Linked DNA regions of Homo sapiens: regions 1, 2, 3, 4, 5 and 6 are each linked to region 7. Evidence: promoter capture Hi-C in 16 types of primary human blood cells and fetal thymus (Javierre and others, 2016). All regions are on one chromosome and are shown on one strand. Each heading gives the region's core, a stretch centred on a gene start or on the middle of the fragment in contact. The rest is flanking DNA. Distances are from core to core; before and after follow the strand shown.

What was found. Contacts are between HindIII fragments. The CHiCAGO score rates a contact against its expected background, and 5 or more counts as called.
Region 1: a contact is called between a fragment that was not itself captured here and the fragment with the promoter of POU3F3 in region 7, in 1 of 17 cell types (megakaryocytes). The highest score is 5.5, in megakaryocytes.
Region 2: a contact is called between a fragment that was not itself captured here and the fragment with the promoter of POU3F3 in region 7, in 4 of 17 cell types (M2 macrophages, M0 macrophages, M1 macrophages and 1 more). The highest score is 6.7, in M2 macrophages.
Region 3: a fragment that was not itself captured here is called in contact with the fragment with the promoter of POU3F3 in region 7 in 2 of 17 cell types (monocytes and M0 macrophages); the score reaches 5.4 in monocytes.
Region 4: a fragment that was not itself captured here is called in contact with the fragment with the promoter of POU3F3 in region 7 in 1 of 17 cell types (monocytes); the score reaches 6.0 in monocytes.
Region 5: a contact is called between a fragment that was not itself captured here and the fragment with the promoter of POU3F3 in region 7, in 1 of 17 cell types (M0 macrophages). The highest score is 6.0, in M0 macrophages.
Region 6: a fragment that was not itself captured here is called in contact with the fragment with the promoter of POU3F3 in region 7 in 1 of 17 cell types (M2 macrophages); the score reaches 5.5 in M2 macrophages.

The regions. Positions count from the first base shown.
Region 1 is chr2:104,364,856-104,368,212 of GRCh38, forward strand. No RefSeq gene overlaps it. Among named protein-coding and RNA genes, the nearest start is that of LINC01831, 47 kb to the right of the region's middle. The HindIII fragment of the contact is 1,062 bases long and covers 1,477-2,538 here.
Region 2 is chr2:104,464,586-104,467,831 of GRCh38, forward strand. All of the region lies in intron 1 of LINC01102 (long intergenic non-protein coding RNA 1102), which reads left to right. Among named protein-coding and RNA genes, the nearest start is that of LINC01102, 32 kb to the left of the region's middle. The HindIII fragment of the contact is 5,892 bases long and covers 1-3,246 here.
Region 3 is chr2:104,552,494-104,555,652 of GRCh38, forward strand. No RefSeq gene overlaps it. Among named protein-coding and RNA genes, the nearest start is that of LINC01103, 44 kb to the left of the region's middle. The HindIII fragment of the contact is 1,309 bases long and covers 1,168-2,476 here.
Region 4 is chr2:104,480,908-104,484,144 of GRCh38, forward strand. The region is part of intron 1 of LINC01102 (long intergenic non-protein coding RNA 1102); the gene reads left to right. Among named protein-coding and RNA genes, the nearest start is that of LINC01103, 28 kb to the right of the region's middle. The HindIII fragment of the contact is 5,330 bases long and covers 1-3,237 here.
Region 5 is chr2:104,395,089-104,398,529 of GRCh38, forward strand. All of the region lies in intron 1 of LOC100287010 (a long non-coding RNA gene), which reads right to left. It also overlaps the pseudogene AHCYP3. Among named protein-coding and RNA genes, the nearest start is that of LINC01831, 17 kb to the right of the region's middle. The HindIII fragment of the contact is 507 bases long and covers 1,596-2,102 here.
Region 6 is chr2:104,525,442-104,528,525 of GRCh38, forward strand. No RefSeq gene overlaps it. Among named protein-coding and RNA genes, the nearest start is that of LINC01103, 16 kb to the left of the region's middle. The HindIII fragment of the contact is 1,687 bases long and covers 752-2,438 here.
Region 7 is chr2:104,852,828-104,856,116 of GRCh38, forward strand. POU3F3 (POU class 3 homeobox 3) reads left to right here and starts at 1,288. Exons shown (of 1, transcript NM_006236.3): 1 at 1,288-3,289. The coding sequence starts at 2,684. It also overlaps a transcript of PANTR1 not described here. RefSeq lists an enhancer at 892-1,481. The HindIII fragment of the contact is 8,766 bases long and covers 1-3,289 here.

The sequences.
Region 1 (3,357 bases), core at 758-3,257, 490 kb before region 7:
AACCTTTAGGCTTGATAGAAATGAGGTTTTATGAGGAAGCAAAAAAAAAAAAGACATTAAATGCTTTCAAACTGTTGATTCTTTGTATGGCATTGTTAATGTGTGTATATATATATATGTGCATGTGTGTGTGTATATACACATACCTAATAGATACATACATGGGGGGATTGGCAAATATTTTTAGGGAAAAATAAGTTTTTTCTGTACTTGAAGCACACCACAAGAGGCAGTACATTATTAAGCATCATTAGCTTTTTTAATTTAATTGCACTAAAAGAGATTAAGGTCACACCCCAAGTATTCCAGCTTCTATGGGCAGGTTTTCTTTTTGTTTTCTTTTTTATATTCGAAATGAGAGACAGTATCCCCTCAGTTATCATGTGATAAGAACAATAAATGTGGCAAAACTATTTAGGGTAAGGCAAAGAAATTATGCCAAAAATAATGTCAGAGAGTTTCAAAATTGAGATGTTTTCCTTGAGAAAAAAAAAAGTAGTTTAAAAATAAAAATACATCATGGCAATTGAGACAGTGTGCTTCTTCCCCCACTACACCATCAGAAAAAAGAGCAGAAAATGTAATGGTCTTTGCCAAAAATTGAAGGCTACATCACTAGATTGCAATATTTGGCTTTTGGAGAATGAATTTAACAAAAGGAAGCAAATTTTAGAACTACTTTTTAAAAATAGAATGAACCATTAAATTAAACATTGGCCAAACCAGCCAAGAATTATACAAATTTGATGCAAATTCCATAACTCTGATTTCTCTTGCGTCTGTGAAAAACTCAACTTTATGACTGTTGATTCAACTGACTGTTGCCATTTATGTCTTTCATGGCCATGATCCTTTTGTCTCCAAGCTTCTAGATATTGCATTGGATTGGCCAACTAAGGCAATATATTTTCTATTCTGTACTTCTCAGAAATATACTTAGCATGTAGGAGAAGAGAGACTCCAGAAATGGGCTATGATGGTGGTTGAGAAGAATCTTTTTGCACATGCGTGCATGCTCATGAGTGTGTGCACACACACACAGACAATGCCTGAAGGACTTTGCAGCCACAACATCAGAGGGACAGATGATGCTTTGTTAATTTAATCTAATGTCTACAAATGTTGTACCTCGCTCAGAATGCTATCGCCTTAAATTTCAAACTTTAATTCAAGTTCTCAAAGTGTTCAGAGTTGACCATAAGGTTTGCAATCTTGGGGGCATGTCCTGATGGGTAGTAACAAGACATTTATGAAAATGTCCTTGTCTTATTCCAAAAGAGCGACCATGTGAAATGTGGCACCTGAAACTTGTTACAAAGCTTGTCACTTGCTCAATTAATTTGTCTTTATAGAGATACCAATCAGTGTGCCTGGCCAGCAATATACTCTCCTCCCAAGTCATAGTTGTAATCTGCTTTAGAACATGTTAAAATGGAAAACACGGAGCTGGAAAGGTGAACAAGAATATAGTCTAAAAGCTTGTCTTCATATACAAATAGTTCAGAAGGAGTAGGTGTGTAAGTAAAATTAAACACACACACACACACACACACATCATTCCTTGAAATTCAGTTGATGGCACAAAGAATGTGCACAGTGACTCTAATTCATAGAAACGAAGATCTCAAGCCATGCTGAAGACCAGCTTCTTTTTTTAAACCATCGCAGTATGTGCATGGTACACAGTGTATTTATATGGTGCATCCTACATACCCAATGAGAAGGCAAAAATAAAGAATTAGAATGTCATCATAATTTCAGTTTGGCAGTGATTTTATTTTTCTTGTTCTCCCTGATAATTCCAGTACCCAGACTAGTGCCTGGTATCTAATAAGCTCTTAATGCATATATGTTGAGTGATGGAGTGGCATAGGTAATTTCTGGAATGACTGAAGTAAATATAATCAGCTCACTTTAAAATGAATTTTTTCAGTATAAAGTAACTCTCTGGAAGTTGACATGAAGTTTGATCAGAAATTAAGGCAGAAGGTATGTGAAACAGTAGAAACTGTAGATATGAGTATAAAAAAAGTGGGTGGCAAGGGATAAGGAAGCATGTAGGGGGTTCTGCCCAGAATACTGAGAAACAGGCCAGACCATAATAAAAGGGAACACAGAGAAAGGAGGACCTTAGTGCACAAAAAATACAATTTTAATTTAATTTCAAAGCAACCTGAGTGTTACTGCAACACTGGAAAAAAGAACAAACTTGGTCTTACAAACATCAAAAAAAACAATGGTACCTTTAGTGTAGGGATATTTTGAGAATGGCCTATCCAGCTTACAGCAGCTACACAGCAGATTTCAATAGTCTAAGAGTGAAAACGTTTTAGAAATAGATGTGTTTGGAAAATTTTATACAAAAATAACTCAGCCATAGGATGGATTTGAAATATAAGGGAGAAATGAGTGAAAGATGTTCATTCTTTCATTCATTCCCCAATACTTAGTGAATGCCTGTGATGGGATAGAGCAGAGAAAAAAAAAAAAATAAGAAATCCTTGGCTTCATTCACTGTACATTCTTTAGGGTGGACCAAGCTTGTCTAAACCGCACGTAGTCCAGGATGGTTTTAAATGCAGCCCAATATAAATCTGTAAACTCTCTTAAAACATTATGAGACTTTTTTGGTGATTTTAAAAAAATAACTTATCAGCTAGTTGTTAGTGTTAGCGTATTTTATGTGAGGTTCAAGACAATTCTTCTTCCAAGTAGCCCAGGGAAGCCAAAAGATTGAACACTCCTGGGGTAGACAAAAATATGAAACCCAAAACAAATTAAATTAAAAATGGAAAAGAAAGTCTTGCAGAATCTTAGGAGGTTATGTGCTTGGAAGGACAAATAATGACATGGAGACCGGGCAGAGGGAGCTGGAGGAAGGGGCTGTGGTACTTTCAAGCACAGTGGTCAGGAAAGGCCCCCAGGGAGAAGATGGCATTGAAGTCTGAAAGAGGTTCTAAGTTCTTTCTGTTCTAGAGGATAGAGATACCGTCATACTTACAGAGAAAGGACATGTCATAAAGGCTTAGGGGCAAGCCGGGTTCATAACCTTTGTTTTAGAATTTTTCTTCTTCTCTATAAAATGTATCAATGCTTTTCAATAATTAGGGGTAAGTTCATTTTGTTTGTTTTTTTCCTCAAAGGCTCAAGAGATAGTTATGATTCTCAGTGACTTTCCCATTGGCTTCTTTTTAAAATATTTCAATTCGAATCAAATGTCCAGTGAGCAGCGGCTGTGCCTGGGAGGCGCCACAAAGGGGAGTGAGTTTCCAACCTCAGGAGAAGGACAAATAACAGGGAAAGGCAAAGGTTTAAAGAATTTGAATAGGGTATGAATTCGATAATATAAAACGAAAC
Region 2 (3,246 bases), core at 320-2,819, 390 kb before region 7:
ATCATTCTGACAATTTCCTTCACGTAGGTCAAAACAACGTAGCAGACATTTCTTCTGGGCTGCAAATTTTCTTTGGGAATGATTATGATTGTTTAAGTTATTTTTAAGATAATTCTCACCTCTTCTCACACTGTTTTCTTTTTTTTTTTTTTGAGACAGAGTCTTCCTCTGTCATCCAGGCTGGAGTGCAGTGGCACAATCTCAGCTCACTGCAACCTCTACTTCCCAGGTTCAAGCAGTTGTCCCACCTCAGCCTCCCGAGTAGCTGGGACCACAGGAGTATGCCACCACTCTTGACCAATTTTTTTATTTTTTATTAGAGACAAGGTTTCACCATGTTGGCCAAGCTGGTCTCGAACTCCTGACCTCAAGTGATCCACCCGCCTCAGCCTCCCTAAGAGCTGGGACCACAGGCATGAGCCACCTTGCCTGGCCAGATACACTGTTTTCAACCCCAAAATAACAATAGGTCAAAACAACACTGAAACAAAATAGTTCATGTTACTGCCTTCGTACTTCTAACTGAAGTCTAATTTTAGTGAAATATTTTTGAATTGTAAAGGCTAGAAGTTTGTAACCTTCAGCATAATTGAACGTTTATTTTCCTACGATTAATTCCGTCTAGAATGACATGTGCAAAATAATGCAGTCATAGTAAACTTTGGAAGGAAACTTGGAAATCATTTTGTCAAACTATCTTATTTATAGATGAGAAACTTGGGCCCAGAGAAGTTCTATGATTTGTATAATGAAAGAACCATAATGTTAGCAGCATTTGTGTTTTCCAAGCAAAACAGGACTAGGCAGAAAGTTGAATTGGTTCCCTGAATAATTCAGATCAAAAGAAGCTGAGGTATCTGAATTCAAAAAGCCAGATTGTATGTTTGCCCTCAAGTATCAGGACAAATTTTATTTGGAGTTCCGCATATCCACACCATTTGCATGCCTTCTGATTAAACACTTAGTCAATGGTGACTATTTAAGCATAAGAAATTCAATTCTCATTTTCACTAACATTTATTACCCATTTATTATGTGCAGACACTGAGCTGAGTACTATACATACTTCATGTCATTGAAGTCCCGCAGTTCCATAAGGGAGGCAATATCATTATTTCCATTTTGCAAAAGTAGAAACTCTGAGCTCTTATATGGAGAAAATTCAGTACTCTGCTAAGGTTTACACATCTAATAAGAAAAGTAGATGCTCAAGGGGGAAAAACACTTGCATATCTGACTCCAAACTATACTTCTCAGCCTGTATGCAGACCTCAGTCGGTGAAAAGTTTGTTGGAGACACTGGCCCGGCTCAGCCAAGAGTTTCTTGGGTCCCTTTACCTGTTGTTGGTGTGTCCCCCACCTCTTCCTCTATGGCCCTGCTTCTCTGGCTTGCATCAGGGCAGAAAACTGCCCTTCAGCTCCTGATTCCCCTCTCCAAAGTCTGGCCAGTGTCAGATATGAAGACTGGCTCCCGTACCCCAAGTCAGTCCATCTCTCAGGTTTGACTTATACTCCAGAGCTCCCTGGCAGATCAGACAGACTGAGGATGCTCGTTTGCCTAGCACGACTCCCTGGCCTGGCTTCCCCTTTTCTGTGGTCTGCTTACCTCATCTTTCACCAGTTTCTCCTGGAAGCTCTTCCTTCATGCATCGATTGCACAGAAATCTTCACATCACATCTTCTTCTCAAAAGCCTAACCTGAGATGCTTGTGCTTGTACCCCAGATGATGGGAAGATGTGGACTCTGGTGGAAGGCACATGATCAGATCCCTTTGTTTTCATGTTTGCATCTCATTCCTCTGTTGGATATTAAAGAAGTGTTCCTGAATCATGCAGGAATAGTCTCTGAGGAAATTATACTCTTCTTCCAACTCCACACAAGGAGGCCTATTTGGATAAAATTTTTCCAGAAACGATTACATACTTTTCTCTTTCAGCCCTGCACAATAAAACATTCAGTCCCTTGACTCTCCACATTCTCCAAGCAAATTAAGAGTTATGTCCAACTTCACTGAAGATCTTGCAGAGCCCTTCTGAGGGTGGGTGATCCAGAGCACAGTGACCAGTTGGACAGCAGTGTGTGTCTGTGCATACCTGTCCCACGGGCTGCCAAGAGTTGCGTGAGCCTGACCACATCCTCCCTGCTCACCAGGCTTCCACCACTCCCCAGCCTCTTGAGGGAGAACAAGTTTCCCTGGCTTGATGAATGATACCCTTTGGCCCTGTCTCTGCTTGTGCCACTAGCTTTGTCTCCTACACTAGCTACCTTGTATTTGATCTCCCTCACTATGAAATCATCCATAATTCCCCAAACCCAACCTGACACCACTTTTGATTATGGTCAGACATTTTTTTCCCTGGGAATTCATCCAGAGCTCTCATCCAGAATTCTACAGGAAATCCATTTTCTCCACTTATAGTACTGAGGCAGAAGCAGTGGCATCACATTTGACTCATCCACATGGCTGAATATCATTTTAAATTGGTCTGTCTGTTTGGTGACAATTCATAAACCCCGGGGATGTTGTCCTTTAAAATGAACTTCTTTGGTCAGGGACCTCAGGATCCTCTAGTCTGAAGCAATACTCTTCCTCTCCAAGGAGGAAATGTGCCACCCCAATAAGAGAATTCTATTTACCCGATTATAATGTATACATGTTTGGAACCCACGTGGTTGTACTCAATAGACATAGGTGGACCTCTGGAGTCAGGAGACAACTTACACAAACATTACTGGGTCAAGCCCTTTGCTTACTGGAAGGCATGGACACTTCCAGTTACATTATCATGCACCTTCTTCAACACTTACTTTATCTTTTTGCTTGACAGAGACTCAGAAGTGTGAAGAGATCCCCGAGGCTCTGTTTTTTTCTTTATATAAATTGAATAGAGGCATTGAAAAAAGAAACCTATGAGAACAGAGGTGAAGAGGCAGCTGTGGCTTTTCCTTGAACTCACCTTGGTGGTCATTCTACACCAGGGGACAGACCAGAGATGTCAAAGGACTAATGGTCCGATTCAGAGGCAGAGATCACAATGTCTCTCTGCATGGTTGCATGCCTATGGGTTTCAGTAGAAATTATTTAATCATGTCTCATGTGAAAGCTCAATTTAAATACCAATTCTCCTTATTTCACAAAATGGAATAAAGCTATGAGTAAGAGGATTTACACCCAAGACAACATCGCCATTGACACTCAATCAGGCTTTCATAAATAAAGTCATGAAGAATTCAAGGCAACTACT
Region 3 (3,159 bases), core at 572-3,071, 300 kb before region 7:
AAGACCAGCCTGGCCAACGTGGCAAAATCCCTTGTCTACTAAAAAATACAAAAGCTAACCGGGCATAGTGGCACACTCCTGTAACCCCAGCTACACAGGAGGCTGAGGCTGGAGAATTGCTTGAACCCGGGAGGCGGAGGTTGCAGTGAGCAAAGATCACGCCACTGCCCTCCAGCCTGGGCGATAGAGTAAGACTCCGTCTCCTTGTCTTTAAAGGGAATTTGATTTAATTAGTAAATCCAGACTAACACAAGGAGGAAAAGGCATAAATAAAACTCTTTAGTCTGCAAATAGAGGGAAACACATTAACATCATTGAGTGTCTATATAGGGAAGTCCCTGAAGACATATAAGAAGAAAATTGAGAAATATCAACCCAGACTCCTCTGAAGGTGGAGAAGTGGACCAGATGCTTCTCAAAATCTCTCCCAGGTGTGCAGAGCTAATGACTCTAGGGCTCAGGCACCTGAGAAATTCGGAGGGCTCAGGACAGGTGAACTGTGCTTTCAAACCTTAATATGTGAAAAGTCAGGTCTAGTAAAAAGATTAACTAGTGAATATTCACTCAACAGTAAGATTTCACCTAAAAAAAAGTATGAATACAGAATCACTTTTAAAACCCTCAAGTGCATTTAAAATATGATCCAATTTCCAGAAATTGGAGAACATATTCTTTCAGTAAAGGAATCTATTCATGTGTATAAATTACAGATACTGTTTCTGCATAGATGCTATTTTTAACAAGCATACAAAAAATCCTACATAGGACAATAATTTTCCTTCTTGTGCTGCTTTGGTGTGTTTATATGAGTGAATGAGCAACTGAATAAACTTGGCTTTCATAAGTATAGATTTAAATATTAGGGATTCATATTGGACCCTATATTCAGTTATTACTACTGTCATGGAAGATGTATTCCTACTCCAGGAGGGAAAGAAAGCTCTAAAATAAAGTGCCTGGAAAATAAAGTGTCTGCTTCTCGCTGTGATTTTTTCCTCCAAATAGCCAGGAACGGAAGCTGAAGGATTTGAGTAGTCTTTCCTCTACTTCCTTTCTTTTTTCCTGAAACCATTGGATGAAAAAGTCTAAGCTGAAATCATTGTAAATTGCGTTGTTCACAAAGCAGCTATCACTCTTTTTTACTGGCATGGGAAGCCAACCTACCGAAGCTTCCAACAGTGATCTGGAGAATAATTCAAACAGGGGAACTTCCAGTGGAGATGTACCTACCTATGGTTTTGTCCACAAATGAAGAGAAATGGTGAGGTGGGTGATCACCCAACAATCTGAATTCCAGAAAACAGTCCAGGTTCTTCACATGCAGACCATCAGCTTTGCTAATCAACAAAATTGCATGACCTAAAAAAATCAAGTTAATCACGGCTTTATCTCCTCTCTGTCTGCCTGTAAAAACCCAAACTTCATATTCAAGGATTCCTGAATACATTACCCTAACCCAAAAAAGTCAAGTTGGTATTAAGCAGAACCCACATTTACAGACTGCTTGCAGCTCCCCAATGAAATGAGTGCTGAGTCTCACAGCGGTAGCTTTCAGAATGCCAAAAATTTTGCATAATAAGAATTCATTTTTGGTGCTCACACTGAGGGGTAAATCTGCAAAGAAGGAACTCAACTATTTTGAAAGCTCAAACATTGTTCAGAAATTTATAGCTTTTCAAACTTGGGAATTGAGGCTGAAATGCTTAGGAGAAAATGGGAGGGGAAGGACAAAGGCCTTGGGTAGAAGGTTGGGCTCATAGAGAGGTAGAATTCCTGGCATCCCATGGTCTCCGCATGCTCTTATGGGTGTCCACCATAAGGCACATGCATATACACTCCACATCTGATGCTGCCTGTTGTGCACATACATGTGCATTTTTGTGTACTCTGCACATGAGTGTTATTATATGTGCATGCATATACTACATATGTAAACTTTGCTGTTGTTTCAATGTTTTCCACTTAAGACAATATGACATGCTTCGGTAACCCTGACTCCTTTTGGGATGTGAAGAACTGCGACTGCAGTTAAAGTAATAGAGAGCGATAATGTGGCATGCCAGGAAAACAGCAGCATTGGCCCTGAGGTAACCCCTTTCAAAAATGCCCAAGCAATGGAAAACGTGGCATCTCATTTCCTGGGAATATGGCATTAGTACTCATCAGCAAAATGTAACACTTTATTTGAAGATATCAGTAGATTTTGAGGCAATGTTTCTCTCTTGCAATCGCTTGCTTATAGGTGCTGAGAGCCAGGGATCTCCAAGGAAAACGTTCTTGGCCTGAGAAACACATAAATTAAGGATAAAAAATTAATTCTGCCACTTTCCAATGCTATCTTACATTCATAAAGCATTGATATCAGACCTGACATGCTTTGGGTTTTAGTTCCATTTATTGTTGCTAATTTTCTAATTTCTAGGAGAAAAAAAGCATTTTAAACAGATCCAGGGCATCCCATGAAACTTCATGGTAAAGCTTTGTTGAGTTAAATATAAATGAATTGAGGGCTCATGGTCATATCTCCCTATAAATCATTGCACATAGTCAAAAAAGAGAATAGTTTAAGACTTTATGGGCAAAGCAGGTGAAAAAAATTATTGAAGACATCTAATATTTACATTTTTACTCATTAGCAATTAGTTTTTGGGATATAATAATGCTTAAATGATATCCTTTTGCTAACTGAACACTGATTTATGAAAAGACCTTTTAAGCATGTATAAGATTTTTTTCATGGTATTTTTTGGAATATTGTTTTGTTTATCTGTATGGTGGTTGCTTTGTTTTTGTTTGTTGGCTTAGAAAGGAACTGAGAGCCCACGTATAATTTCCAGATTGTATCTATTAATATGAAAGTGACCTGTGTAGTATTAATTACATTTTTTATCTTAATATGTTTAGTGATTTTTTTAATAGATCAAAGACGCAAAAATTTTGGCAAACTAGTACCCTCATTAAAACTGAGATAAATAGGGTTATATACATCATCAAAAGAAAGCCTCATTTCAGAGTCAAAGTGGACTATGGGGCAAGCGAAGGCCTTTCCTTTCCTGGATCCAAGGTGTGCACATGTGAAACCACAAGAACTCTGGGAATGCCCAAAACCTAAGGCTCTTCACAGTCTACATCTTTTTCTTTTTTTTGAATTTTGTATAA
Region 4 (3,237 bases), core at 58-2,557, 370 kb before region 7:
TGTGCCAGTAAGCCTTTAGAAATCACAGCTACTTTAGAAGCAAAGTACCATTACCCTTATTGTATAGATGCACAAACTGACTCACCTAGGAGGGAAGTGATTTCTTAGAGGTGCAAGAGTAGTAGGTAACAGAACTGGTTCAAGATCATGCCTTTGTAATACAAACTCAGGCTTCATTTTTTCTTTTGCACCAAGACTGCCCTCTTTGAGAGACAACAATATTTGGTGTGTTTTTTCAGGGGGTGAGGTTCTGGGGTTTCATTTATCATTAAATATGCATTATGCCTCTGCAATAAACTAAGTGCTGGGAATAAGCCATCTCCCCTGATGACTGCAATACAGTGGAGGACACTAAGGGCTGAGAAAGGGTAAAGATGGGGCATGCCATGGGGAAGCACTTACGGGGGATTGGTGCTGAGTGCAGGGCTACTGGTGTTCAGGAAAGCAACCTTGGCTCAGGGAAGAGTGTGCAGCATTCAGCCAGAAGCACGGTCTGCAAAGTGAGGGGTGGCTGGCACCGGAACAGAGGTTACTAACGCAGAGGGACCAGGGAGACAGAGGGCAAAAGATCATCTGAGCCATGTGGAGAACTGGAAGCAGCTCAGGAGAATCAGAGCCAGGGAGAATAGCAGGAATGAGCGCAGCAGTGAGACCCGAGGCTGGGGAGGTAAGCAAGCGTCCAATTTCACTTGCCAAGAAATTGTTGGTGTTAGCCTACAGGCACTGCTTAAGTTTACATAAGCTGCAATCATTGTGACCTAGAAGCTGGGAGCCAAGAGAACAGGTAGGACCTGTGCTGGCAGACACTGTAGTGAGAGATGATGGTGATGATTGTCTCTACTGTCGTCTGAATCTTTTCAGGACAAAGATGTATATCCAGCTGGTATCATTTGTCTTTAAACCAGGTTAAGTTGCCATCCATGCCAAATGAGTATTCATGACAGAGGTCAGGTACAGGTACAGTCAAACTTAAAATCTTGTAAATTACATATAAAATTATTTGAAGCTATTTAACACCTGATAGAACCAAATAAATTCTTTGGATAGCTTCACAACAACATTGCCTATACAGCAAATTGGGGTAATACATGGAAGACGCATTTTTCTTTTTTTGAAAAGGGGACACTTCATCCTTCTGGAATAACTTTTATTTATTTAGGAACTCCTCATTCCAGCTTTCTGAATTTGATCTGGAAGATGGGCATTGTTTGGATATCACAGTTCTTTAGTAAAGGTGGTTTGGCCAAACAAAATCCCAGGCAAATTCTATTTTGAATTCCCCTGGCCTCCACAGAAGCCATCAATTTAAGCTACCTTCTGTCTGGATGTCCCCTGCCAACAATTTGCTGCTTGATCATTGTTTCCAATTGCTAAAGTGACCCTTAACTATGGCTGCTAGAGAATTCCCTGGTTCCCTCAAATCGATGGAGAAATCCTAGAACAGTGGGATTTTTTCGTTGTTGTTTTTTTACCAGCCATGTGCTCCGTGCAAATTCTTTGATAGCTGCATATTCTCGTGCCCTAAATAGGTACTCTGGTACTCAAAATGCTGGTGATATGACTTCAAAAAAGGAGGTGCGGCTGTGAAGACAAGATGCTGTCTAGAAAGGCCTGTGTGGCCTGCCAAAGGCTACCTTTTACAGCACCAGAGAGGAGCAGTTTTTTAGCTTTTGTCCACTGCCCAAATGTTTTGGGAGAAATCTGTACTAGAGTAGCCAGAAAGGAATATAACCTACCTGCATGTACATTAGTTAGGTTATATCATCTGAAAAACTTAAGCATATTATTTTATAGAATTATCACCTCCAGTGAAGCGCAGCAAAGAAACTTCAACTCCTATACCAAGAATGGAAAAGAATTGCTCCGAGAAGGGACTGCTTCTTTTGATCACTTTTGCACTCAGGCTGGAGTGACTCTGCCCTATTCTCTCTCCTCAGTTCCTCAGGCTCCTTAGCAGATGTGGAGGGATGCCTCGGGGGGTCTCAGAAGTCCTGGACTCTGCTTCAGTGAAAAATAGGAGAGAAGCTGCTTTTTGGTTGCTGTTTGAACTTTTCATGAAGAGAGTTCGGATACAGTATTTAAGTGTGTTAAAAATGTTTGGCAGCATTTGCCCATTTATGAATATATTCATTCTTTCTACATCTTTCTACATCTATTGCACATCTTCCCCATAGCAGGAACCATTAAGACTCGGGGGGCCACGAAGTACATAAGTCTTGGCTCTCTGCTCTGGGAGCACTTGCTAGAACAGAGGGAGAGACGTGAAAGCGTAGAATTGAAATACAAGGAGATCATGTTCGTAATCGAGATATAAAGTGACTGCTATGAGAGGACTGCTCAATGAGCCACCAACGCCCTGGGGAATCAGGTCATGCCTCAGTGGAGTGTGATATTTGAGCTTCAGGTATTCTGTGGTTTACATACAGCTCGTCCCCACCAAATCTCATGTTGATATGCGGTCCCCGTGTGCTGGTGGGGAAGGTGGGGCTGGGTGGGAGGTGTTTGGGTCATTGGTCGGGGGGTTCTTTAGTGAATGGCTCGGTATGGGTCTCATGGTAGTTAGTTCTGCTCTCCTTAGACTGGATTACTTCTCGTGAGAATAAACTCATTCCCCTGAGAGTGGGCTATTATAAAGCGAGGACCCCCCTCAGATTTTGTCCTTTCTTTGTTGACCTTCGTCCATGTTATGACCTAGCACAAAAGTCCCCACCAGAAGCTGAGCAGATGCTGGCACCATGTCCCATGAACTTCCCACCTTGTGGAACCATGAGCTACAGAAAGCTCTCTTCTTTATAAATTACTCAGTCTTGGCTGGGCACGGTGACTCACGCCTGTAATCCCAGCACTTTGGGAGGCCGAGGCGGGCAGATCACGAGGTCAGGCAATCGAGACCATCCTGGCTAACACAGTGAAACCCTGTCTCTACTAAAAATACAAAAAAATTAGCCGGGTGTAGTGGCTGGCGCCTGTAGTCCCAGCTACTCAGGAAGCTGAGGCAGGAGAATGTCGTGAACCCGGGAGGCAGAGCTTGCAGTGAGCTGGGATCGTGCCACTGCACTCCAGCCTGGGTGACAGAGGGAGACTTGGTCTCAAATAAATAAATAAATAAATAAATTCCTCAGTCTCAGGTATTCTGTTGTAAGACAGGGACTTATAAGAGGAACTAAGACAGGGTCAAATGTGTTTCACACCCTTAGAATCACTTCAGTTGAATAAAAAAATGTATTGGGAGTGTAT
Region 5 (3,441 bases), core at 599-3,098, 460 kb before region 7:
ATTCAGCTTGCCCAGGTGGGATTCAGCCACAGCCTCATCCAGCTTCTTGGGCAACAAGTGAATCCCACCAGGGTACTTGTCTGGGTGGGTCCACAGCTCAATCTGCACCGTCGCCTGGTTGGTAAAGGAGTCACTCATCACAAAGCCGAGGTGGCCCATGGAACAGCCCAGGATTACCAGCAGACCCTCAACCAGCAGGATGGTGCCGTGCTGCTCTTCAGCCAGTCCTGGCCAGCTGGGGCTTGATGGTCACCTTCTCCACAGTGTTCGCGTTGAGCCACTTGGCATTGATCTCCACATCAAAGGGTTACACATGATAGCATCATCCTTCATCTGCTCAAAGTGCTGGCCAAGGATGATGTCAACACAGCCTGTGGCAGTGACAAAGATGTTGCCCTCCTGACAGGCCTCATCTACCACAGTCACCTCATAGCCCCCCATGGCAGTCTGTAGCAGGTTGATGGGGCCGATCTTGGTGATGACGAAGGGGTCCCCAAAATCCCACAGGGCCTGGGCACAGCCCTTGCCCATGTCGCCATAGCCTGCCACCATGGCTACCTTGCCGACAATCATCACATCCGTATCCCTCTTGATGCCATCTATGAGGGACTCCCGGCAGCCTTAGAGGCTGTGAAACTTGCTCTTGGTGATGGAGTTGTTGACGGCAGGTACCTTCAGGATCCCCTTGGCCATCATCTTATGTAGGTTGTGGACCCTAGTGGTGGTCTCCTCAGAGATGCCTTGGATGCCCAGTAAGAGCTGTGGGTACTTGGTGTGGATGTGGTTGGTGAGGTCACTACCATCATCCAGAATCATGTTGAGGGGCACGTCTTTGAAGTAGTGAATGTTGGATGCATGACAGTTACCCCTTGCTTGTTTCACCCTTCCAGGCATGCACTGGAATGACAGCCTTGGCAATGGCAGCCATCACCTGGTCCTGGTGGAGAAGATGTTGCAGCTGGAACACTGTACCTCAGCATCCAGGGAGACAACGGGTCTCAGTGAGGATGTCTCTCTCCACGGTCACATACGGCCAGCCAGAGATATGGGTGCCCTTCAGTGGCTTGGAGCCCAAGTACAGCTCCCACACACTCATCAGACCCAGCATCTCATTCTCCGCAATATCCAGGCCCTTGTGTCCCCAGGAGGCCAGGTCGATGTCAGCAACTTTATAGGACAGTTTGTCAGACATGCTGGCAACGCTTCCACAAAGTGTGATGGACACGGAGAAAGGGGGCTGGGCCTCAGAGAGGGGACAGGCATGGGGCAGGTGGCACTGAGCAGGGCAGATCTGCATTTTCTAGTCCTTATCAGCTTCTGACCTGGCTGCTCATGTTTAATGCAACAACATTGTTTTCATCAGGCTAAGCTAGATTTTGCTGCAGTGACAGGTCACTCAAAAATCTGTGTGGCTTTTCACACACACAAAATATGTTTCCCACTCACACCACATATTCAACACAAAGAACACAGGGAGGCTTGGCTCATCCTAAACACATGAAGACCTGGCCTAACGGAGGCTCCATTTGGATATATTCTTCCACAGTCTCTAGAGATGAACATGGGAATCAAGTAAACGACACTCAAGCTCTTAAAGCTTCCCTCCCAATATAAAATAATTACTGGCTAAAGCATGGCCTTACCTAACTCCAAGAAGGTAAGGAAATGCAATTCTACCAAGTGCCTAACAGGAAAATAAAAATATCTGATAAATGGTACTGATGATTTCCTAAAGTACATCCACAAAATAAGGAGCTGACATTTTTTATTTTGAGCTGGAATATACTCCAAGACTCTGAACTGACAAATGATAAAAAATATAATATATACGGCCAGACACTGTCCCCTGTTTGTTAAGCAGTGGCAGAACCACCCCTGCTACCATTCCAGTGACCATCCCCTGCTTCCCAGTTTATATAAGAGGATTACAGAGTAAAGAAGGATGGAAGGGCTCTTGGATCCTCATAGATCTGCAGTGTCAGGAATGAAAAGGGGTCTCCCTCTCTTCTCCATAATCAAATAAATGGGGCTTTATGAGACCCTGTGGTTTGATGAGGAGTGTCTACAAGGAGGGGACACCAGTGCCCCACTTCCCAGCTGAAAGCTTGCTGTCATTCAGAATTGGAAAAAACTACTTTAAAGTTCATATGGAACCAAAAAAGAGCCCGCATCGCCAAGTCAATCCTAAGCCAAAAGAACAAAGCTGGAGGCATCATGCTACCTGACTTCAAACTATACTACAAGGCTGCAGTAACCAAAACAGCATGGTACTGGTACCAAAACAGAGATTTAGATCAATGGAACAGAACAGAGCCCTCAGAAATAACGCCACATATCTACAACTATCTGATCTTTGACAAACCTGAGAAAAACAAGCAATGGGGAAAGGATTCCCTATTTAATAAATTGTGCTGGGAAAACTGGCTAGCCATATGTAGAAAGCTGAAACTGGATCCCTTCCTTACACCTTATACAAAAATTAATTCAAGATGGATTAAAGACTTAAACATTAGACCTAAAATGATAAAAACCCTAGAAGAAAACCTAGGCATTACCATTCAGGACATAGGCATGGGCAAGGACTTCATGTCTAAAATACCAAAAGCAATGGCAACAAAAGCCAAAATTGACAAATGGGATCTAATTAAACTAAAGAGCTTCTGCACAGCAAGAGAAACTACCATCACAGTGAACAGGCAACCTACAAAATGGGAGAAAATTTTCGCAACCTACGCATCTGACAAAGGGCTAATATCCAGAATCTACAATGAACTCAAACAAATTTACAAGAAAAAAAACAAACAACCCCATCAAAAAGTGGGTGAAGGACATGAACAGACACTTCTCAAAAAAAGACATTTATGCAGCCAAAAAACACATGAAAAAATGCTCACCATCACTGGACATCAGAGAAATGCAAATCAAAACCACAATGAGATACCATCTCACACCAGTTAGAATGGCAATCATTAAAAAGTCAGGAAACAACAGGTGCTGGAGAGGATGTGGAGAAATAGGAACACTTTTACACTGTTGGTGGGACTGTAAACTAGTTCAACCATTGTGGAAGTCAGTGTGGCGATTCCTCAGGGATCTAGAACTAAAATACCATTTGACCCAGCCATCCCATTACTGGGTATATATCCAAAGGACTATAAATCATGCTGCTATAAAGACACATGCACATGTATGTTTATTGCGGCACTATTCACAATAGCAAAGACTTGGAACCAACCCAAATGTCCAACAATGATAGACTGGATTAAGAAAATGTGGCACATATACACCATGGACTACTATGCAGCCATAAAAAATGATGAGTTCATGTCCTTTGTAGGGACATGGATGAAATTGGAAATCATCATTCTCAGTAAACTATCGCAAGAACAAAAAACCAAACACCGCATATTCTCACTCATAGGTGGGAATTAAACAATGAGA
Region 6 (3,084 bases), core at 345-2,844, 330 kb before region 7:
CTCTGCTATTCCAGTGTTTACATAGCCAATTCCCTTTATTAAATACCCTCTACTTTAAATACCTAGAATGGGACCAACTTGAGCAGTACCAGTACATTCTCCACAGAGATGCTGACCCTGATTATCAACCTGCAGAACCAATGACAGCATCAGTCTCCCTCCAGACATTGTATACTGTGAGAAAATTATTTACTTAATCTGCTTTATTCACTTAATCTGCTATGATCGGGGATTTATTTTACCCATAAAGAACTACGTAATCAGTTTTTTCCATGCATTAATTTATTTACCTATTTTTAGCATTTTGCATGATAGACTGGCCTCATCCAGTTCACTGAGCAAGTATTTGCTTTCTAATGAGTCCTATAAAGTCCACCCGTCTAGACTGTAAGGGAGACAGACATCTCAAGAGTTTATTTCTGCTTTTACTTTTCTTTGAAACAAACTGAGCTGTTCTGTTCCATGTAACTCCACACTGTCTTCGACCAGGTGCATGTTCCTCTTATGTTGAATCGCTGCAGCTCAAGAGCCAACTTAAGCCACACAAGCACATTTAAGGATTGTACCACATTCACTAACATTCCATTGGCCAATGCAAATTATGTGGCCCTGCTCAACACAAATGGGGCTGAAAAGTATTTTGTTCACAAAGGGAGAGGAAAGAGTGTGCTAAAAAGTAATTCTCAAATTTTAACATGCATCAGAGTTCCCCGGAAGACTTGCTAAACAGACTGTGGGGCCCCATTCCCAAAGCTTCTCATTCAATAGGTTTGGAGTGGTACCCCACAATTTACGTTTCTAACAAATACCCTGGTGATGCTGATGCTGCTGGTCCAGGGACTAAACTTTGAGCATCACTGGTCTAACCTATGACTTTAGTCTTGATACCTATCACAGTAGGTATCTAGAGAGGCCATGCAGTGTCTAAGAGAAAGTCGGGGACAAAAGAGTGTAAAATGCAAAATAAATGAAAAACAAAAATGATTAGTCTTGTGAATAGTCCTTTTGAAAAAATGCAAAAGGATCTTGGTTTAATTAGGCGAAAGTAGAGTAGAAAACTCAGTAACCATCTTAAAGTGTGCATTAGAATATAAGCGGCTGGTTTTTGGAGGACAGGAATAGAGTTAAAGTGCATCAAAGATATTTAAATTAGCCATGAGCAAGAACAGCCCATTTGCAAGGCTGTTGACATGGCAGGTACACCAAAGAGACTTAGAAAATCAGAATTAGATCATTTAAGGCATAAACAGTTACCATCGTGTTATTATTTGACTTTTGTCCTACATTGGTGCAAAATTGGAATCATCTCTGAGGGTCACTTTGGCCCCACAATCTGGTAAAGCCGGGTATGAGGATGGGAGAAAACTCAGTAAAGAAGGAGACAGAGGGAGAGACCCTGAGGAATGAATGCCTTCTTTATTGGCAAATGTATTAAAAGATGTCACCAACAGACTTTTCATAAAAGCAAACATTTCCTAATCGTGCTGTCACCCTTAAAGCACGATGAATCTTACCCCATCGAGGAGTCAACTTTTATGGGGAGACTAGAAAAAGCATCAGACTGAATGTCACAAGACCTGGAATGAGCCTAGGTTCGGCCATATTTGTGTTGGTTGGCCATTTATCTTAACCTTTTGCAGTTTCAGGTTTCTTGTCTATAAAATGGGTATAAGAATACCATCACTAATAAAAGAGAAAGAGCTTTGCAAACCATAAAGTGCTATTCGAATGCTGGCTTTCGGATGGCAGAGAAGCGGTGACCATGGGCAGACCCGTCCATCTCAGCTTGCCCTGCGGAGCATTGTGGGAGTGCTTTCTGAGTCGGAATTTCAAGCGTCACTGCAAGGACAGTTTGTGTTTTGGATATCAGACAGTAAAAGTTCAGTTCAGTTAATTGCATTCTCAGTTCAGGACGTATTATCAAAATCGGTAGGTACGAGGCCTTCCTCTTGTCTAATCTCATGCTTTTTTCTTCAACTCCATTCCCAACCCCAGCTTCCCCCTCCCCACTCTCACTCAGTTTGGTATACGTCTTTGCTATGCACACGTGTTTGAAATAGAGCATGTATTTATTTATGTGTGGCAGAGATACTGTACTTTATATCTCACTCTGGGTTTTACTCAACACTGTGTTCTGGTTTTTCCTGTCTATCCATTTAACATTATGTACCTCCAGTGACTACTATACTGGTAATTCTTTTTTAATTAGATTCTTGACATACGGTAATAAACTTTTTATTTTGCCAATTAAGGACATAAAACAAACAAACGTCTATTATCTACTCTTCCCATCATTTCATCAAAAAGGGTATTTTGGCACCAAAAATTGGATAAGGATAGAATCTCAAACTAAAGCATAGTTTCTTTATGGTGAATACTTCAGGACCATCTAGATTTGTGGGAAACCTCATCCATTTCTCTCATTTGTGGAACAGTGAAGCTTTATCATGGGCTGGAAATAGAAAAACATCAGAGGAAAATATTTCTGTACCGTGCCATATAGTCATAGTTTAGACTTTGTGGGTCCAGAGTTGGCTTCAGGGCCATGAGAACTATGCAGTTGCACAAAGCCCCACACTTTAGAAGGGCCGTTTGCTTGGTTTAATGTTCTACTGTTACTGTTTTAAAATTCTTAATAATTTGTGAACTGGAGGCCCTGCATTTTCATTTTGTTCAGGGCCTCAGTTCTCTGTAGGTCAGATATCCTCCGTTACAACCACTCCTCTCTGCCACGGGAACACAGACACAGCCGTAGACAGCATGCAAACGAATGAGAGTGGCTACATTCCATCAAAACTTTACTTCCAAATATAGGCCGCGGGCTGGATCTGGCCTGTGAGCCACAGTTTGCTGGCCCCTGGCTTAGAGCACAGGCTGTGGAGTAAGCAGGCTAGATTCAAATACCAATGCCAGGACTGCGGCTGCATGACACCTGGCCATTTACTTAACCTTCTCCAATTGCTACTTGCCCCCATTTCTAACTGTGGGGTAATATTGCAAGCCTACCTCTGGGGCTGCTGTCAGAATTAGCCCGATGATGTATGTAAACTGCCTACTACCCTCCAGTACAAACTTTCTAGAACT
Region 7 (3,289 bases), core at 38-2,537:
AGCTGGGTTAGAGCTGAGAAAGCATTTGTCGCCGCCAGCCCCATCCACCACGCAAATCCATCTGAGACAGAAAGGAAAGAAAAAAAAGCACCACCATGCCTAAGAATAGAGAGCGAGCAAACCCCCCCACCGCTAATCACACACACACACACACACACACACACACACACACACGAGGAAGCGGTGGAGCAGAGAAGGGCGCGGCTAGCCGATCCCGGTTCTTTCGCCCGGCTCCTGCTGCCACAGGGAATTCCTAAAGCCATTGGGGTCGAATACACTTACGATGAATCTATGGGGGAAGGTCGGACTGATTGCTTTTCAAATACATCGCACGGCTCCGCTGACCGGCACCCTCCAAACTCACAAGGGCACGCACGCTACTTGCACGAATCCCAGAGGAGGGAGGAGGGAGGAAGGGAGGGAGAGCGAAGGAGGGAGAGAGGGGGTGGAGGAGCCAGGGAGCGGCGGCAGCGAGCGGTCCGTCTCGCACGCGCGGGCACCGCGCTGGTCCTGGGCTGCAGGTTTCCCAGATGATGGCATCCGAGAACTTAAACAAAGGGGGCTGCCGCCGGCGCGCAACGGCTGCGGAAAGTTGCGGTGGCGGATTTCCAAGGAGCGTGGCCACGACCAGAGCTCTTGGCGATGCGAGCCCCCGCTTCCCACCCCCGCCGATCAGAGAAGGGGGCCGGCTGGTGAAGGGAAGAGGAAACTTTGAAACCACTGGGGACACATCTGTCTATAGGTATTAGCTTGAATGGTACATCCGTGCCGCGCGCTTTACAAATCTCTGGCGGGGCGGGGGTAAGGGGGTGAGCAACCCGACGCGTACTAGGTGGGGTGGGCAGGTTGCTATTTTTCATGTTTCCCCCTTCGTTTTCCTTCTGATTCTCTTCCCCCCTCTCGTCCCTCCCTCCCTTTTATCTCCCCTTTCTTCCCCCCGCCCAGACCTATTGCGAACGCCCAGAGCCGCCGAGGGAACGCCAACGTCTGGGCCGGACACTAAGAGTTAAGATGTGGCGGAGGGGGCGGCGGGGGAGGGGCGGGGAGGGGAAAGTGGTGAGGGGGAGGGAGGCTGGAGGACGACAGATTTCCAGCTTCTACGACGCTCTGCCTAAATTAAAAAGCAACCAATCGGAACGGCCGGAAGGGGGGCCTCGCGTCCTGAGCCAGTCATTCCGAGCCTGCCAATCACCCAGCGGGTAGCCAATCAGCGGGGGCCCTGGTGCTCGACTTCCTTGTATTTGGGAAAGTGTGGTGGTGGGTGCGCGCTCGCGGCGGAGGGTAAACATTCGACAGTCCCCGCTCTGAGAGGGAGGGACAGAGAGCGAACTGTCAGATCGGAGCGAGAGCGGGCGCCCGAGAGAGGGAGAGAGAGAGAGGGAGGGAGAGGAAAAGTGAGAGAGGGAAAGAGAGCGCGAACGAGGGCGCAGAGCGAGCTCCTGCTGCAACTCTGCTCCAGCACGGCCAGCGCCAGCGCCCGCCGTCGGTGCACTCTACGAGCCGTGCAGCGTGCCCACTGGAGTTGTTGTGTATCAAGGATCGATCCCCTATATGCACACACACACCTCCACCTCCACCAATGCACTCTTCTTCCTCCTCCTTCTCCAGACAACTGCTGGGAAAAAAATAAAACACCAACCCCAACCGTCAGCAACAAGGTAACAGAGCGATTCGACATCATTTTTTTTCCTGTTCAATTTTTTCCTTGTTATATTTGTTTCCTAATTTCTGCCCAAAAGGAAAGATGTCGCATCAGACTGTGACTGTTGCGAGGAGAATGAAAAAGGACTCTTGTTTCAGAGGCAACCAAGAGCTCCGGCAATAGCAACTTCAGAGAAATGCACCATCGCAAGAAGTTTTCCTAGGACAGAACAAAACTTGAAACGAGAGGACCAGAGGGGGAGAGCAGGAGCCAGCCTCCCCTCTCCGCACTCGCGAGCAGCCAGCAGCACCACGCCTTCAAGGACGAAAAAGTTTTACTACTCTAAGGGAAAACGAGTGAAATGTGTTCCTGAGGAGGAGAGGAGAGGAGAGGAGAGAGCGGACAAGAGAAGGAGCGGGCCGGTTGCTGGTCATCCGTAATTTGGCTAAGGAAGAAAGGAGCAGCTTCTTTCTTTGTTATCTCCCGTGAAACCTTCACTTAGCAGGTGGACGGAGCCCCGCGACCGGGCAGAGTCCGGGCTCGCCCGAGGACAGGAGGAGGAGCGGGAGCCCGCGCGTCCCGGGAGAGCGCCCCGAGTGCAGGTCCCCGCCCCGCCCGGCGAGCCCCGCTGGAGCGAGCCCAGCGCGCCGGGGCTGGGGGGCGGCCACGACCCCCCCTGAAGGGGGTGGCCACGGAGCGCACCCCGAGAAGCGAGCCCCCCTCCCCAGAGCGCTGCTCCTGCGGCTGCTGCTGCTGCTGGTGACCAAGGCCGGCCGGCGACCCCCGCGCCCTGCCGAGCGGCCTTGCAGCTGCAGCCGGGGGCCGCGGCGGCGGCGGCGGCGGCGGGGGCGGAGGCGGCGGCGGAGGAGGAGGCGGCGAAGGCGGCGGGGCCGGCGGGGGCCCGGGGCGGGGGCGGGGAAGGAGGGGGGGAGGAGGCGGGAGGCGGGGGGCGCGGCGGCGGCGGCGGCGGCGGCGGCCGCGGCTGCTGCTGCGGCGGCGGCGGCGGTGGTGGCGGCGGTGGGGTGGCGGGAGCGGAGCGGCATGGCCACGGCGGCTTCTAACCCCTACCTGCCGGGGAACAGCCTGCTCGCGGCCGGCTCTATTGTGCACTCGGACGCGGCAGGGGCTGGCGGCGGCGGGGGTGGCGGCGGCGGCGGCGGCGGGGGCGGCGCAGGGGGCGGGGGCGGCGGCATGCAGCCGGGCAGCGCCGCCGTGACCTCGGGCGCCTACCGGGGGGACCCGTCCTCTGTCAAGATGGTCCAGAGCGACTTCATGCAGGGGGCCATGGCCGCCAGCAACGGCGGCCATATGCTGAGCCACGCGCACCAGTGGGTCACAGCCCTGCCCCACGCCGCCGCCGCCGCCGCCGCTGCCGCCGCCGCCGCCGTGGAGGCGAGCTCGCCGTGGTCGGGCAGCGCCGTGGGCATGGCTGGCAGCCCCCAGCAGCCACCGCAGCCGCCGCCGCCACCGCCGCAGGGCCCCGACGTGAAGGGCGGCGCCGGGCGCGACGACCTGCACGCGGGCACAGCGCTGCACCACCGCGGGCCGCCGCACCTCGGACCCCCGCCGCCGCCCCCACACCAGGGCCACCCTGGGGGCTGGGGGGCGGCCGCCGCTGCCGCAGCCGCAGCCGCCGCCGCCGCCGCC